4 separate regions of the Homo sapiens genome follow, and regions 2, 3 and 4 are each linked to region 1. Evidence: promoter capture Hi-C in human tissues and cell types (Jung and others, 2019). All regions are on one chromosome and are shown on one strand. Each heading gives the region's core, a stretch centred on a gene start or on the middle of the fragment in contact. The rest is flanking DNA. Distances are from core to core; before and after follow the strand shown. Region 1 holds the start of BMPER (BMP binding endothelial regulator). Region 2 overlaps BBS9 (Bardet-Biedl syndrome 9). Region 3 overlaps BBS9 (Bardet-Biedl syndrome 9). Region 4 overlaps BBS9 (Bardet-Biedl syndrome 9).

Evidence for each region. The method cuts DNA at HindIII sites, captures the fragments that hold promoters and counts their contacts. A contact is called where the count stands out against the background at its distance.
Region 2: a fragment that was not itself captured here is called in contact with the fragment with the promoter of BMPER in region 1 in 3 of the 25 tissues and cell types used here (aorta, dorsolateral prefrontal cortex and mesenchymal stem cells).
Region 3: a fragment that was not itself captured here is called in contact with the fragment with the promoter of BMPER in region 1 in 1 of the 25 tissues and cell types used here (dorsolateral prefrontal cortex).
Region 4: a contact is called between a fragment that was not itself captured here and the fragment with the promoter of BMPER in region 1, in 1 of the 25 tissues and cell types used here (spleen).

The regions. Positions count from the first base shown.
Region 1 is chr7:33,904,065-33,907,426 of GRCh38, forward strand. BMPER (BMP binding endothelial regulator) reads left to right here and starts at 1,475. Exons shown (of 15, transcript NM_001365308.1): 1 at 1,475-1,682; 2 at 2,754-2,839. The coding sequence starts at 1,550. The HindIII fragment of the contact is 7,840 bases long and covers 1-3,362 here.
Region 2 is chr7:33,489,039-33,492,400 of GRCh38, forward strand. The region is part of intron 19 of BBS9 (Bardet-Biedl syndrome 9); the gene reads left to right. Among named protein-coding and RNA genes, the nearest start is that of FLJ20712, 240 kb to the right of the region's middle. The HindIII fragment of the contact is 4,233 bases long and covers 1-3,362 here.
Region 3 is chr7:33,561,607-33,564,968 of GRCh38, forward strand. All of the region lies in intron 21 of BBS9 (Bardet-Biedl syndrome 9), which reads left to right. Among named protein-coding and RNA genes, the nearest start is that of FLJ20712, 160 kb to the right of the region's middle. The HindIII fragment of the contact is 6,844 bases long and covers 1-3,362 here.
Region 4 is chr7:33,588,111-33,591,472 of GRCh38, forward strand. The region is part of intron 21 of BBS9 (Bardet-Biedl syndrome 9); the gene reads left to right. Among named protein-coding and RNA genes, the nearest start is that of FLJ20712, 140 kb to the right of the region's middle. The HindIII fragment of the contact is 7,459 bases long and covers 1-3,362 here.

The sequences.
Region 1 (3,362 bases), core at 225-2,724:
GACCCGGTTTCAACTCTTGGACAGAGGAAGTCGGTAGTCCACCGTGAGCTCAAGGACAGCTAGCTGATCGTCAGGTCCCAACACTTGCCAAGCGTCCCTCACTCCCACCTCGCGCCTTCGTACTTTGGTTACAAAAATCATCTCTCTGCGATTGCACCCCTTTTGAGTAGAGGGTGCCACTGCGTGGGGAGGAGGCGGCGATTCAGCAGGGGGATCACAGGAGCTGACTCCCCGACACCCAGTGCTGCAGAGGCGAGAGGGCGCAGCCGGGCTGAGAGAGCGACGGAGCTCCGAGCTGCAGAGGCCGCCGCGCGGCGGCCCCCGCCAGAGATGAGCGGTGGGGCGGGGGTTCCTCCCTCTTTTCGGGTGAATGAATGATTAGTCAAACACCACCTCCCCGCCCCGGTCCGCCCGAGATTGGAAGGGAGGAGTCTCGGAGCGACTGTTCATTTTTTAAGGACGAAAGGCGTTTGCCTCGGTACGTTTTTAAATCGACCTTGTGTGTGTTTCAACTTCGGTCATCCCTAGTGTCAGGACGCGCAGACAGCTAAGCACAGAACACATCTCTAAGGCCACTTGCCCCTCTGTCCGCTCAGCCCCCTGAGTTCGCTGTCGCGCCCCCGCCAGAGGGAAGCAAAGCAGGGCATGAAAAGTTGCGGGGGCCCTACTGCCCCGGGTGTGTCGCTCCTTCCCAAAGGTGGGGCACCCGGGAGCGAGCAGGGTGGTGGGGCGCCCCTGCGTCCCGTTTGCTGCTCCCTCGCTGGATTGGGGCACCCGGGCCTGAGCGCTAGTGCTGCGGCATCCCCGGGGCTCCCCCAAGAAAGGGAGGAGGAGCCGCGCTCGCCCGGACAGTGGAGACGCGCCTTCTCGGCTCTGGTCCGCGCCCTGGGGCCCTGGCCTCCCTGGAGGGGCTGGGGAACTGGAAGCTGGGCCGAGAGAGTTCCCGCTGCAGCTATCGCGCAGTCCCTCCTGCGCCCGGGCGCCCCCAGCGGGTTCCGGGAGGCGCCCGGTGAGCCCACGTCTGTTGCGGCGGAGCGAGCGCGCTCCGGGAGGGCCGAGAGCCGGCGGGGCTGGCAGGAGGTGAGGAGTGCGGGAGTGGAGGACGCTGCGGCAGCGACAGCGACAGCCCCCGAAACAGTAGCGGCAGCCCGGGCGGCGGCTGAGCGGCAGTGCGCAGTCGGCAGCGCCGCAGCTCCTCTCAGTCTATCTCCGGCTGCCGCAACACCCCTTCCTCCTGGCCCCCTCTCCGGCGCTGAGGGGCTGACTGCTAAGCCACTGCAAGCAACTCCCTCAGGAAAAAAAAAAAAAAAGCCGCATCGGAGGAGCCTGGCCGCAGGACCCCTCCTCCCCGGGCGCCCCCACACCTTGGTCTCTCCCCCCGCCCTCCCTCACACCCCCCCGCCCCCCAGCTCTCGGGCGCCCGCCTCCCTCCTTCGCGGACGGTCTCCCGACACGCCGGCTGAGAGCCCTTTTCGACTGTGAGCTGCGGCAGCTGAGCAGAGGCGGCGGCGCGGGACCTGCAGTCGCCAGGGATTCCCTCCAGGTGACGATGCTCTGGTTCTCCGGCGTCGGGGCTCTGGCTGAGCGTTACTGCCGCCGCTCGCCTGGGATTACGTGCTGCGTCTTGCTGCTACTCAATTGCTCGGGGGTCCCCATGTCTCTGGCTTCCTCCTTCTTGACAGGTAGGGGAGGGGGCGGGAGGGACCGGCCCTCCGGGACGCCGGTTTGGTACCTGGGAAAGGTGGCGCTGGCTTGCCCCGGGGATGGGAGGGTGGGGAGCGCGCACCTTGGCGCTTGCCCTGCGCTGGTCGATGGGGATGAAGCGAAGCCCCGGGAGGGCTGGGAAGGCTGGTGAAGAGGTTGCGGGCTGAGAGGCTGTTGCCTTCAATGTAGTAATAATAGACATTCTTCTATTTGAATTTGAGAAATTATTTTATTTATTTTTAATGCTTTCCTCAACTTTTATTTTAATCTTTCCCTCTGTAGAACTCAGGAAAAAAATTTGTGCAGTTTTCCGCACATCTTCCTTTCTCATCTTTGGGGTTGCAATACATCCACTGTGCTAGGAGTGCTTTTTAAAGCACTGGCTCTCAAGACCTTGAATTTAAAGAAACTATCATTTAAAAAGGGCACTAATAGCCGGATATAATAATTATATGTTTTCAGGCAGGTGAAGACCTCAGCTGCTATTCTGAAGGACATACTTTACTGACACCTGGTGCAGAAAAGAAAATATGGAGTCAATTTCTAAGAGAAGGGAAAAGGGGATTGCGTTTCAAAAAGTGATTTAAACCTAAGACAATGCGAGACAGATTCATAGAAAGGCCTGTTTATTGACTCAGTTCTGAGTTTTGGTCAATTTAAAATCTGCCCCAATTTGAGGGTTTTTTTAAATTTTATTTTTTATTTTTTTCTTTGCGTATGGGGCTGTGTGCTTAGTTGAAATATCTTCATAAAGGAGGAGTGTTATTAAAAATCCAGTGAAATACTTGGAATTGTGCTTAGACCATCTGAGAACAGATAATTTATCCCTATATCATAGTCTTTTCTTTTTTGAACCTGTTTAAATAAAATTATTGAAAATGGAGTTGGGGGCAGAGGTTTTGCTTTGGTGAATTTAATAATTTAAACCACATTAAGAATTCTGAAGTTTGGGTAGAGGTTTCAAAAAGGATTAGTGTAAAAATTTTAAATGTTGAAATCATGCTGCTAAGCTAACTTTAAATGAAACATTTTTCCCCCCTGAATTTCAGGTTCTGTTGCAAAATGTGAAAATGAAGGTGAAGTCCTCCAGATTCCATTTATCACAGACAACCCTTGCATAATGTGTGTCTGCTTGGTAAGTGTGGAGATCAGGTAATATGAACTCAACTGCTCTCTCTGATAAGGTGAATCCATTAAATGTGATAATATAACCAGATCTTACAAATTGTCTTTATCATTACAAAATTGCACATAACTGTACATAGTTTGTGAGTTGAATCCAGTTAATTTCTGAGTTTTATGGACTTTGGCAATTTCCATTTCATCCAGCTGGAAATTCTTATCTTTGACATCATCCTTATAGACGTAAATTTCAGATAGGCTTTGTATGACGTCTCGGTGAAATGACAGTTTGTAATGTCTGTTTCCAGTAATGATTACTACAACCAAATTCTTGGGACAACAAAACTTTCTGCGTTGGTTCTGTCATTTAAGCTCAGTGGGAAAATGATGAGATAAGATTTAAGTATGAAGGTCAGGAATAAGGTATGCGACAAAGGGAAAGAGAGGTGACAGCCACAAAAAACAAACATAAGGACAAGATGTAATTCTGGATTTCTTTCTCGGGTTTCTTTGCCTGTTATACCCTAAACCCTCAA
Region 2 (3,362 bases), core at 521-3,020, 410 kb before region 1:
CTGGAGTGCAATGGCATGATCTTGGCTCACTGCAACCTCCGCCTCCTGGATTCAAGCAATTCTCCTGCCTCAGCCTCCCGAGTAGCTGGGATTATAGGCGTGCACCACCACGCCTGGCTAACTTTTTGTATTTTTAGTAGAGATGGGGTTTCGCCATGTTGGCCAGGCTGGTCTGGAACTCCTGACTTCAAGTGATCCACTCTCCTTGGCCTCCTAAAGTGCTGGAATTACAGGTGTGAGCCACTGCACCCGGCCAGGACAGACTTCTTTAAACAAAAATAACCACTTATGGCTTTTTTTTTTTTTTTTTTTTTTGCTGAAATTGAGTTTTCTCCAGTAGGTAGAAGGAAAACTTGGATATTTAATAACTTATCAAAGTAGTGTTGATGACCAAGACCTTCCTTGTGTACTCATCTCTGTTCAGGCAATAGCTGGTATAAAACTAGAGATATAATCTAAATATTCTGCATATCGGTAAACTAAGAGGAGACTGCTCAACTTACCATTCTCAGATTCTGCCAGAATCAACTTCTGATATACCAGAAGTTTTATGGTGGCCAGTTCCCCAATAATCTGTGTAATCTTTCTTAATATTATTTTTGATCATCAAATCATAACTTTTCTGAAGATTGCTAAACACTATTTTCTAAGGTGTTTTTAGGGGAATTAAAATGATGGCCACAGGATAAAACCCTAGAGAACTGAAACAAAGAACTCTTTCCTGAAGCTTCACGTGCTATTGTGTGATATTTCCTATCACTCATGAACGCTTCCACTATGAAGATGGTATTCTATCCCCAGAATTAAAATTTCTTCTCCGGATGGTTTGTGTGATACTTGTTATTTTATCCAAATTCAGCTCTTTATCACAGTGTTGGATATTGATACCAAGAATTTAAACAAAAAGTGGCTGTGTGAATCAGTTATTTGTAAGATAATAATCTTGTTCTTATTCTCTGAAAATGGATTCAGATTTCTAGTAAATGGATTCTATTAGAGGATTCCAATTTGAACTGTGACACCTGTTTAATTTGTTAAGTGAACTAGAAAGTGAGTTATTTTTAAAACTAGTTGTAATCCATACCTCTCTTAACAGATGCTCTCATCCTCATATAGTCTATTTTAGCTACTTCGAAGGAAGAAATACATGGGTTTAGAGGGGCCCCTTATCCATTCAAATCCAAATTTGGACATTTCAAGAAAAGATCTGTTTTATACATAACACATTTACTTAGGTTTGTAGATTTTTCTTTATTTGCTGAGTTTTAAAAAGATCAATCTTTTTTCTTTTTCTTTTTTGTTTTTTTCTGCCTGGTTTGATTTTCTTTTTATTTGTGTGTTTTAACAGAGAAGCTTTACATGAGAATATCAATGCCAGGACCAAAGCTGTCATGTCCCTTTTTGTTTAATTCTCATCTGTATTAGAATTATACATGGATATCAACTATCTTTTGGCTAGTTTTATAGTTGAAAATCACTTCAAAGATAGTCATTAAGAATTATCTCATAACTGTGAAAAATGTCACTATCTCACAAATGTTTATTAACCCCAGTTTCAGTTGCTCATTGAGCCAAATTTCTTCCTCCATTAAGGTTCATGCAGCACCTAACACTCCAGTGGGTGCTCAATTTGTACTCTTTGAAGAGATTGAATAAACATATATTTTATTTTTTCTCAGGGTAAATTGATCTTAGCTTCTATTCTATTAATAAGAAATAAACTTTATTACTTTCCCAGAATGCATAGTTTCTTTCATTGAAGTCATAAGCATAATTAATCTGAAAATAAGTAACAACTTTGTGGAAGTTAATTTTCTAGCTCCGTGGAGTTCTTTCAAAGCGGTGTGGACAGTGACAGAACATGGGCTTTGTTGGGTAGCCAGTCCTGGGTTTGAATCTTGCTGCATGACTGTGGACAGTCAGCATCTTAAACCACCAGTTTCGTCACAGCCAAAGTAGATCTAATAGCCCCACTGCACAGTTTCATTATAGAGACCATATGAAGGAACTCATGCTTGGCCTATAGTAGGTCCTACCTAGGAAGTATGGGGAGAGGGATCATTGTGTATATTGGAGAGAATGCCCCACAAGGGGTAGCCAGGGAGTATTCTTAGAATAGTTATTTCCTGGAAACTGGATGAAGACACTGGGAGGTATAACTCCAAACAAAATACCACACAAAAATACATTTAATGAATTCTAAGACATTAATTTTAGAGCACACTATTGATTAGATAACTTTTGAGGATAAAAAGCAAAGCTACCACATTAAATGTGGCGTATCCTGATTTGAAAACCATTAAAGTGTTTATCAAAAATGGGTGTATGGGTGGGAGAGGTGCCTAACAAGCAAAGGGCATTATGGAATTAAGGAAATCTATTATTGGCTCTGCCTCACAACTGGTATTCTAGGTACTAGCTCTACTTCTAAGAGAATGTTCTGCTAGTAATATTAAGCTAATATGCTACCCTTCTAGGATGTACCAAATGGGATTTAATTCAGTTCAATTGAACAAATATTTGTTGAGCCCTACTGTGTGTTAGGCCCTATGCTCTATGCTGGGGACACAGTAGTAAATAAGACAAGACACAGTCCCTGTCTTCACAGAGCTTACATGTATTAAGCAAGTCATTCCAAATGTGATGGATATAATAGAAGGGGACACACAGGGTGCTTTGAGAGAGAAGATGTGGAGATTATGACACATACTTTGGTAAATAATGTAAGTATTTTATATACAAAATCAATCCCATGAAGAGGTACTGAAATTATTGGGATTGTATAAACTAGAGATGAAGAGGCCAAAGGGAGTGTTATTATTGTCTTCAGGTATATGACATTTTTTGAATTTTATTTTGCTTTATTAAAGGATATGTTGGGCTGGGTGTGGTGGCTCATGCCTGTTATCTCAGCACTTTGGGAGGCTAAGGTGGGTGGATCACTTGAAGCCAGGGGTTTGAGACCAGCCTGGCCAACATGTTGAAACTCTGTCTCTACTAAAAATACAAAAAAAATTAGCTGGGCGTGGTGGCGAATGCCTATAATCCCAGCTACTCAGGAGACTGAGGCATGAGAATTGCTTGAACCTGGGAGGTGGAGGCTACAGTGAGCCAAGATCGCACCACTGCACTCCAGCCTGGGTGACAAAGCAAGATTCCACCTCGAAAAAAAAAACAAAAAAAAAACAAAAAAAAAACTTGGTTGAGTGTTTAGCCAGGGAATAATAAATAATAATAATAATGTTAACCTTTATTGCATGCTTCCTATGTGCTAGCCACCGTGACAAATACATTTTAAGTTGTATCTCATTTAATCTTCAAGCCACGTAATTACTTGTCTCTTACAAAGGAGAAAACTGAAG
Region 3 (3,362 bases), core at 573-3,072, 340 kb before region 1:
CCACCTAAAAATAGAGACTTCTCTCTAAAAACTAGAGAGGAGATCATTAAAAGTGTGAATGAGAATTAAACGGAGTCAAAAACTAGAACAAGAGAAAAGAAGAACAGGAAGAAACAGATCTGATCAAGTATGAAGAAGGAAAAATGCTTTAATTTGTGATCTTCCAACAGGACAATGTCATGGTAAGATTTCTTATTAAAATTAAACCAGCTGAAAATTCCAGAATAAGAACAGTGATTTGAATTTGTAATACAAGTACAGCAGTATTTTCCACTGATGGCTATGTACTTTATGTTATTGATTCAAAGATATTACATAGACATGTTACCAACAATAGTCTTTTCTTTCTTGAAAAATAGTCGTTATTAATTTTACCCCTTAACAATTCTATGTAGTCTGACCTTTTAGGAATAATCCTGGGCTGAAAATAGAGTTGCCATTGAAATTTCAAAGTAACTTCAATTTCAAAGTAGGAATATAAGTAGTAGTATGTTTTATTCTATTAATTGAAGATTGTATTAATGATACTCTGCCTTTCCTATAACTGTGCCATATAGGGCATTTCAAAGAAAGACTAGTTGACCCTTAGATTTACCATTGAAAATCAAAGGATGAAATTGAAATGTATGGCTGGTGGACTGTGAAGTCTCTGTGGTATATACAACAAAGTGATAAAAAACATATATGGTAATAATCACTTTTGGGGGATTCCTTAAGGAGATATTTCTTTTTAAATGTGCATGTCTGTAACCTAGGACTATTCAAAATTAACAACAGCTACTCAAAAGGAAATGAAATATTCTTTTCTCCTGCTTCTCTGAAAAGGCACCATTTGACTAAAGTTTCAATCTGCAGACAAAATAGAATTCCTTCTTCCCCCAAATTTAATTAATTGGCTTCCGCTAGGTCAAGGAGGTGCCTTATTATATGGTACAGCCCCAAATCCTAAACTGAACTTGAAACAGCTAACCTGTGAAAGCTGAAAAAGCCAAATCGCTTGGAAATGTAGTGACAGAAGCCATAGAAAAGGGAAAGGAGGCTGGGCGCGGTGGCTCATGCCTATAATCCCAGCACTTTGAGAGGCCGAGGTGGGTGGACCACGAGGTCAGGAGATCGAGACCATCCTGGCCAACATGGTGAAACCCCGTCTCTACTAAAAATACAAAAATTAGCCGGGCATGGTGGCACGCGCCTGTAGTCCCAGCTACTCGGGAAGCTGAGGCAGAAGAATCACTTGAACCCAGGAGGTGGAAGTCGTAGTGAGCCGGGATTGTGCCACTGCACTCCAGGCTGGTGACAAAGCAAGACTCCATCTCAAAAGAAAAAAAAAGAAAAAGAGAAAGGAGACCATTCTTAACATATTTTTACAAAACCAAGAAATGCTCATTTTGATGACATATTGATGTCATGTTGATGCAATGGAGAGTATAGGTATAATTATTATTATAGAGTGTATTTTTAAAATTTATATTGCTAAAGCCTACAGATTGCAATGGGTCTAGGAGTGTAAATCAGAAGTACTGTCAAAACAGTACTCCAGATGTGTTGAGTCATCTCTGGTGTCAAAAGGATAAGTTCAGATAATAATCAAATAAAGGATTTGCTAGAATATGTGTAGGCACTCAGTCTGATTTATGTTCCCAGTTTTAAGACATCTATGCATTTCACTTCAACTTTAAACCAAGGTCAAGACCACTGGAACCTGGGATCTGGAAATGGGTTTATTGTTAGGATTAGTAACAGTTGTTTTGTTTCACAAACAACTATGGCCATCATTCTAAGAGATTGCTTTTAAAAGAATTTACGATCTCCACTGACACAGGAGGTAAAGTCTATACTGAAAAAGCAGTTCTATTTGAGCTATTTCTGATGTCATTCTGATCCGAAATAAGGACATTTGATTAGAAAATTGAATTTTGATAACTTTGTTATGGCCTATTGTACAACTACTCTCTATCTTAGCATGAAGATAGTGTGGTGCTTTTGCTGCCAAAGAAATAGTGTGTATTTTTGGCCTCTTTTACGCATTTCAAAAGCAACTTTTTATTCTAGTCTGGTGTAAAATTGATTCTCAGGTGAATAACTCAATCCTCTATTCCTGTTGAGTTGCACGTATGGGGTCACTGTAGCTGCAATGTGTATTGTAAGTGATGGTCGAGGGAAGGAATGTCTGAGTATGACTGCAATATAGTATCTGTGCCAATCTGCATTCGGCGCTAAAACAAAGTCATGAGATGCGAAGTGCGAGCTTCTTTGAACAGTGTTTACAGCAGGCCTTATTGCATGATCAGAGTTTCTGAGAAAGCAGCTAACTTAAGACTGCAGATCTCTGTATATTGCTGCCGATAAGACCACATACTTACTGGAACTTATGCTTTATTCATTTTAGCTTTGAAAGATTTTCTAAAAATCTTGCCTGGAATTCATCAATTCTTTAAAAAAAATTTCATTATGTTACTGAATCTTGCTTTAAAGATGAAGATTGTCTTCTTTTGAGCTATCACCTCCCCTTCTTTGTTTTATTGGCAAATTGGAGAGAGAGGAGAGATATCTTATTTATTTTATCTTAGTTACATTATAGTGTAATTTATCTGCTATAGACCTATTCTTACACTATCCACCCATGGCACCCTCATCACCATAGTTGTAACTCACCTGTAATTCGTCTTGCATGTTTGACATTGGAAGGGATTTTAATACAACACAAACAACAAATAATTAGTTGGAAATGATGTGTTATATTTCAGGGGCATTATATATGGAGACAGGCTGACCTGGATTTGTATTCTAGCCTATCACTTACGTTGCCATGTGATTTTGAGTAAGTAACTTAACCTTTCTGGGCCTTAGTCTCCTTATCTGAGACCATAGTAGTGTTGTAAGGACTGATCAAGATAATGCATGGAAGACACTTAGCATAGGACCTAGCCCATGGGAAATGTTCAATTCACGATGACTTTTCGTTTTATTCTGATTATTATAATGGAAAGGTGATTTATTCTTTTTTTTGCGTCAGATGTTCTGAAACTGCGATAGAAGATTACATAAATTCTTGGCTGTCACTTTAAAGCCCTGATCCATTTCTTCTGGAAAAGAGGTGAAAATGTAATGTGTGCTCATTCTGTGATGAGAATAACAACAATCTCACAAATATTTCTATGTTGCCTTACCAGGCATTTGAGATTGAAAGCAGATCCAGCCTGTTTCTCCAAAAACTGAATTCATTGCTGGGAGATAATCTCTCTTTTTGAGGTAAAGAATGATTTGTACTAATTTTTTGGAACTAACACTTAAGAATCCCTGGCTGTAGAACTGCAGTGTAGATATAACATCAAAAGGAAATATTTATATAATGTAGTGCA
Region 4 (3,362 bases), core at 629-3,128, 320 kb before region 1:
TACAGAAATTACTACTGGGATCTTATTTCTTCTCTGGGGTGGACATTTTGTTGTTGTACCTATTCAGTCTCACAAATTCTCCATGTGTTTTTATCCAGTGAAATTCATTTCCTAAAGATTTGTATCAGCTAAAGCAAAGAACTTTTTGAGAACCTTTTTTGGTTCACAGAGCAGCCAGGTCTACTGGGGGAGTAGAAAGAAGAGATTCTATACTGTGTTCTGTTGTAACTGCTTTCCAACCTCCCAGCGGAAAAGGCAGATAATACTATGTAAAAATTAGAATTGATTTTGGTTTCCGTTGCTTCCTCCTAATCTCTCAGCCTAAATTCATTCATTTAAGTTGACAACTAAATATCGTGTGCCTGTTGTGTGCCAAGCGCTGTTCCAAGACTTAGGATACTGTAGCCACCAAATTAGATAGAGATCCCTGCCATTTTGGAACTCTTATTCTCACAAGTGAAGACAATAAGCAATAAGCATGATAAATAAGTGAACTATGTATGTGAGAAAGTAGTAAGTGCTAATGTTAAGTGTTACAGAAAAAGAAAATGTGTGTCAGAAAAGGGGTGGGGGCCACATGGTCATAATTTCAAATTGGGTGGTCAGGATAGGCTTTGTTCACAAGACAATTTTTGAAGAAAGACTTGAAGAAGGTGAGGGAATTATTCATGCAGAAATCAGAGGGACAAGTGTTTCAGGTAAAGGGAATGGTCAGCACCATCCCTAAAGTGGGAATGGGCCTGGTGTGTTCCAGGGACAGCAAAGAGGACAGTGAGGTGGTGTGGTAGGAGAGGAGGCTGGAGGGACCAGATCATGTGCAGCCTTTGTGCAGACATTTGCTCATTTGCTTTTCCTCTGGGTGAAATGGGGAAAGCCATTTTGAATGAAGGAATGACATGACTTTACCTTTTAAAACGATCACGGGTTACTCTTTTGAGAATAGACTATAGTGGGGGTCAGAGGTAAAAATGGGCAGTCCAGTTTAAGGGTTACTCAGAGAAGCAATTTAGCAATACAGTAATTCCCTCCTTATCCATGGAGGATGTGTTCTGAGACTCCCAGTGGTTGCCTGAAACTGCAGATAGTACTGAACCCTGTACTATGAAAAAATGTTGTGTTTTCCTATACAATAACAGGCAGGCAGCATATGCAGCATGGATGTGCTGAACAAAGGGATGAGTTACGTCCCATGCAGGATGGAGAAGGATGACCCAGGATTTCATCACACTACCCAAAACAGAGTGCAATTTAAAACTTGTGAATTATTTCTGGAATTTTTTATTTAATATTTCAGACTGTGGTTGATTGCAGGTAACTTAAACTGCAGACAGCAAAACTGCAGATTACTGTAATTCAGGTAAGAGATGATGATAGATTGTACCAAAGTGGTAGTAGTGGTGAGAAATGGTCTTATTCTGGATATATTTCAAATGTTGAAACAATAGAATTTCCTAACAAAATGGACATGATATGTGAGAGGAAGAAGGGAATTTAGAATGACTCTAGTAGTTTTGGCTCGAGACACTGAAAGGGTGGAGTTGAGATGGGGAAGGCTGTGGGGTGAGATGGGAAAGGTTTGTGAAGGATAAGAGTAAAGTTTGGGACATGTTGAGTTTGAGATGCTGTTAGAGATCTAAGTGGAGATATTAAGTAAGAAGTTGGGTATGAATCTGGGGTTCAGGAGAGAAATCTGGGCTGAAGTTACAAAATTAGGAGTTGTCAGCATGAAAATGTTACTTTAAAGCCAGAAGACTGGATAAAGTCACCAAGGGAGTAAGTTTAGAAAAGAGATGAGGACCAAAAACTGAGTGCTGGATATTGTAACTTTTAGGAAGTTTGGGAGAAGAGAAGGAACCAGCAAAGAATACTGAAAAAGAGCCTGCAGTGAGGTAACAGGAAAAGCAGTAGAATGTGGTATCCTAGAAGTCAAGCAAAAAAAGTTTCAAGGAAGACTGAATGATCAGCTGTGTCAAATGCTGCTCACAGATCAAGTCAGCTGAGAGCTGAAAATTAGCCCATTGATGGAACCATGTGAAGATCATTGTGATCTTGGGCAGCTTCTGTAGAGTGGCAGAGGCAAAAGCTAGACTGGGATGGATGTGTGAGAGAAAGGAAAAAAGAAGAGTTGTAAAGAGCATATATAGAGAACTCTTCGGAGAAGCTTTGCTGCTAAGAGGAGCAAAGAAACGGAAGAAAATGCTGGCATGAAAGTGGGGTCAAGAGATAGTTAATTTTTCTTGATTTGATGTATATTGTTGTCCTCTATTATTGATCTGGACCCTAATCTTTGTTCTTTCTTTACAAAGCTGTTATTTCTTACTGGCCACTGTTTGTTTTTTTGTTTTTTTGTTTTTTTTTTTTTTTTTTACCAGATCAGACAACCAATTAAGGTTTTATTTGAATATTTAACCCAACTATTGGTGTTCCTAGATAGCTATAGTTGCTGCTCTGTCTTCCTAAAATTTACTACCCTTTGTACCTTCAGTTCCCCACTCATCTTACATGAGAATCTCAGGCTTAGACTGGAATAATTTGGCAGTATAGGGCAAAAATGATGCTGATGCTGTAAATGCTTATTATTATAACACTTGTGTATCATTTACTATGAGTCAGGCACCATTTGAAGCGCTTTACATCCATTTACTCACTTAATCTTTACAATACCCTATGAACTAGGTATAATTATTATCTGCATTTTACAAATAAGGAAATTGAAGCAGAGAAAGATCAAGTAAATAGTTTTTCTTTTTTAAAAAAAAAACTAATAATCATGGAGCTGGGATTAAAATTCTGACGGTTTAGCTCCAGAGGCCATGCTTTTGAAGCAACTGGAGAATTTTAAGAGCAGGCAGTTAGCTAGAGAGATTTCATTTTACATAATATAGGAATTTGCTTGAGTGAATGGGTTATGTTTTTGGAGAAACAGGATAGAATACAGGAGCTGATTGGTCATTTCCTTAGATTTACTAGCCTATACATTAGTGGGCTGTGCTCAGCCCACAATCCTGGAAGGATGTGGTGGAACATTCTTAAATGATGACTTTTTTTTTAAAGGCTGTATTTCCTCAAGTTTCATGAATTCCTTTTTAAGTCAACAAGTAAATATTAAGCACCTACTCTTTGCATAAGAGGAAAAAAATTTAACTCCTTCCCTCTATATGTTTATTTTCCTGTGGGAAGCTGATTTGTTTATCACACAGGCTATAGAATCATTTGGAAACTAAAATAGAAAGGGCTTTGCATGTGAATGTAATATTTTACTATTTTTTAAAAGGATCCTTAAAATTTCTATGTCTTTAGAGATGAGGTGTGAACTAAATGATTCTTTGTTAAGTGTTATTTCTTAGAGCACTGGTGAGCAG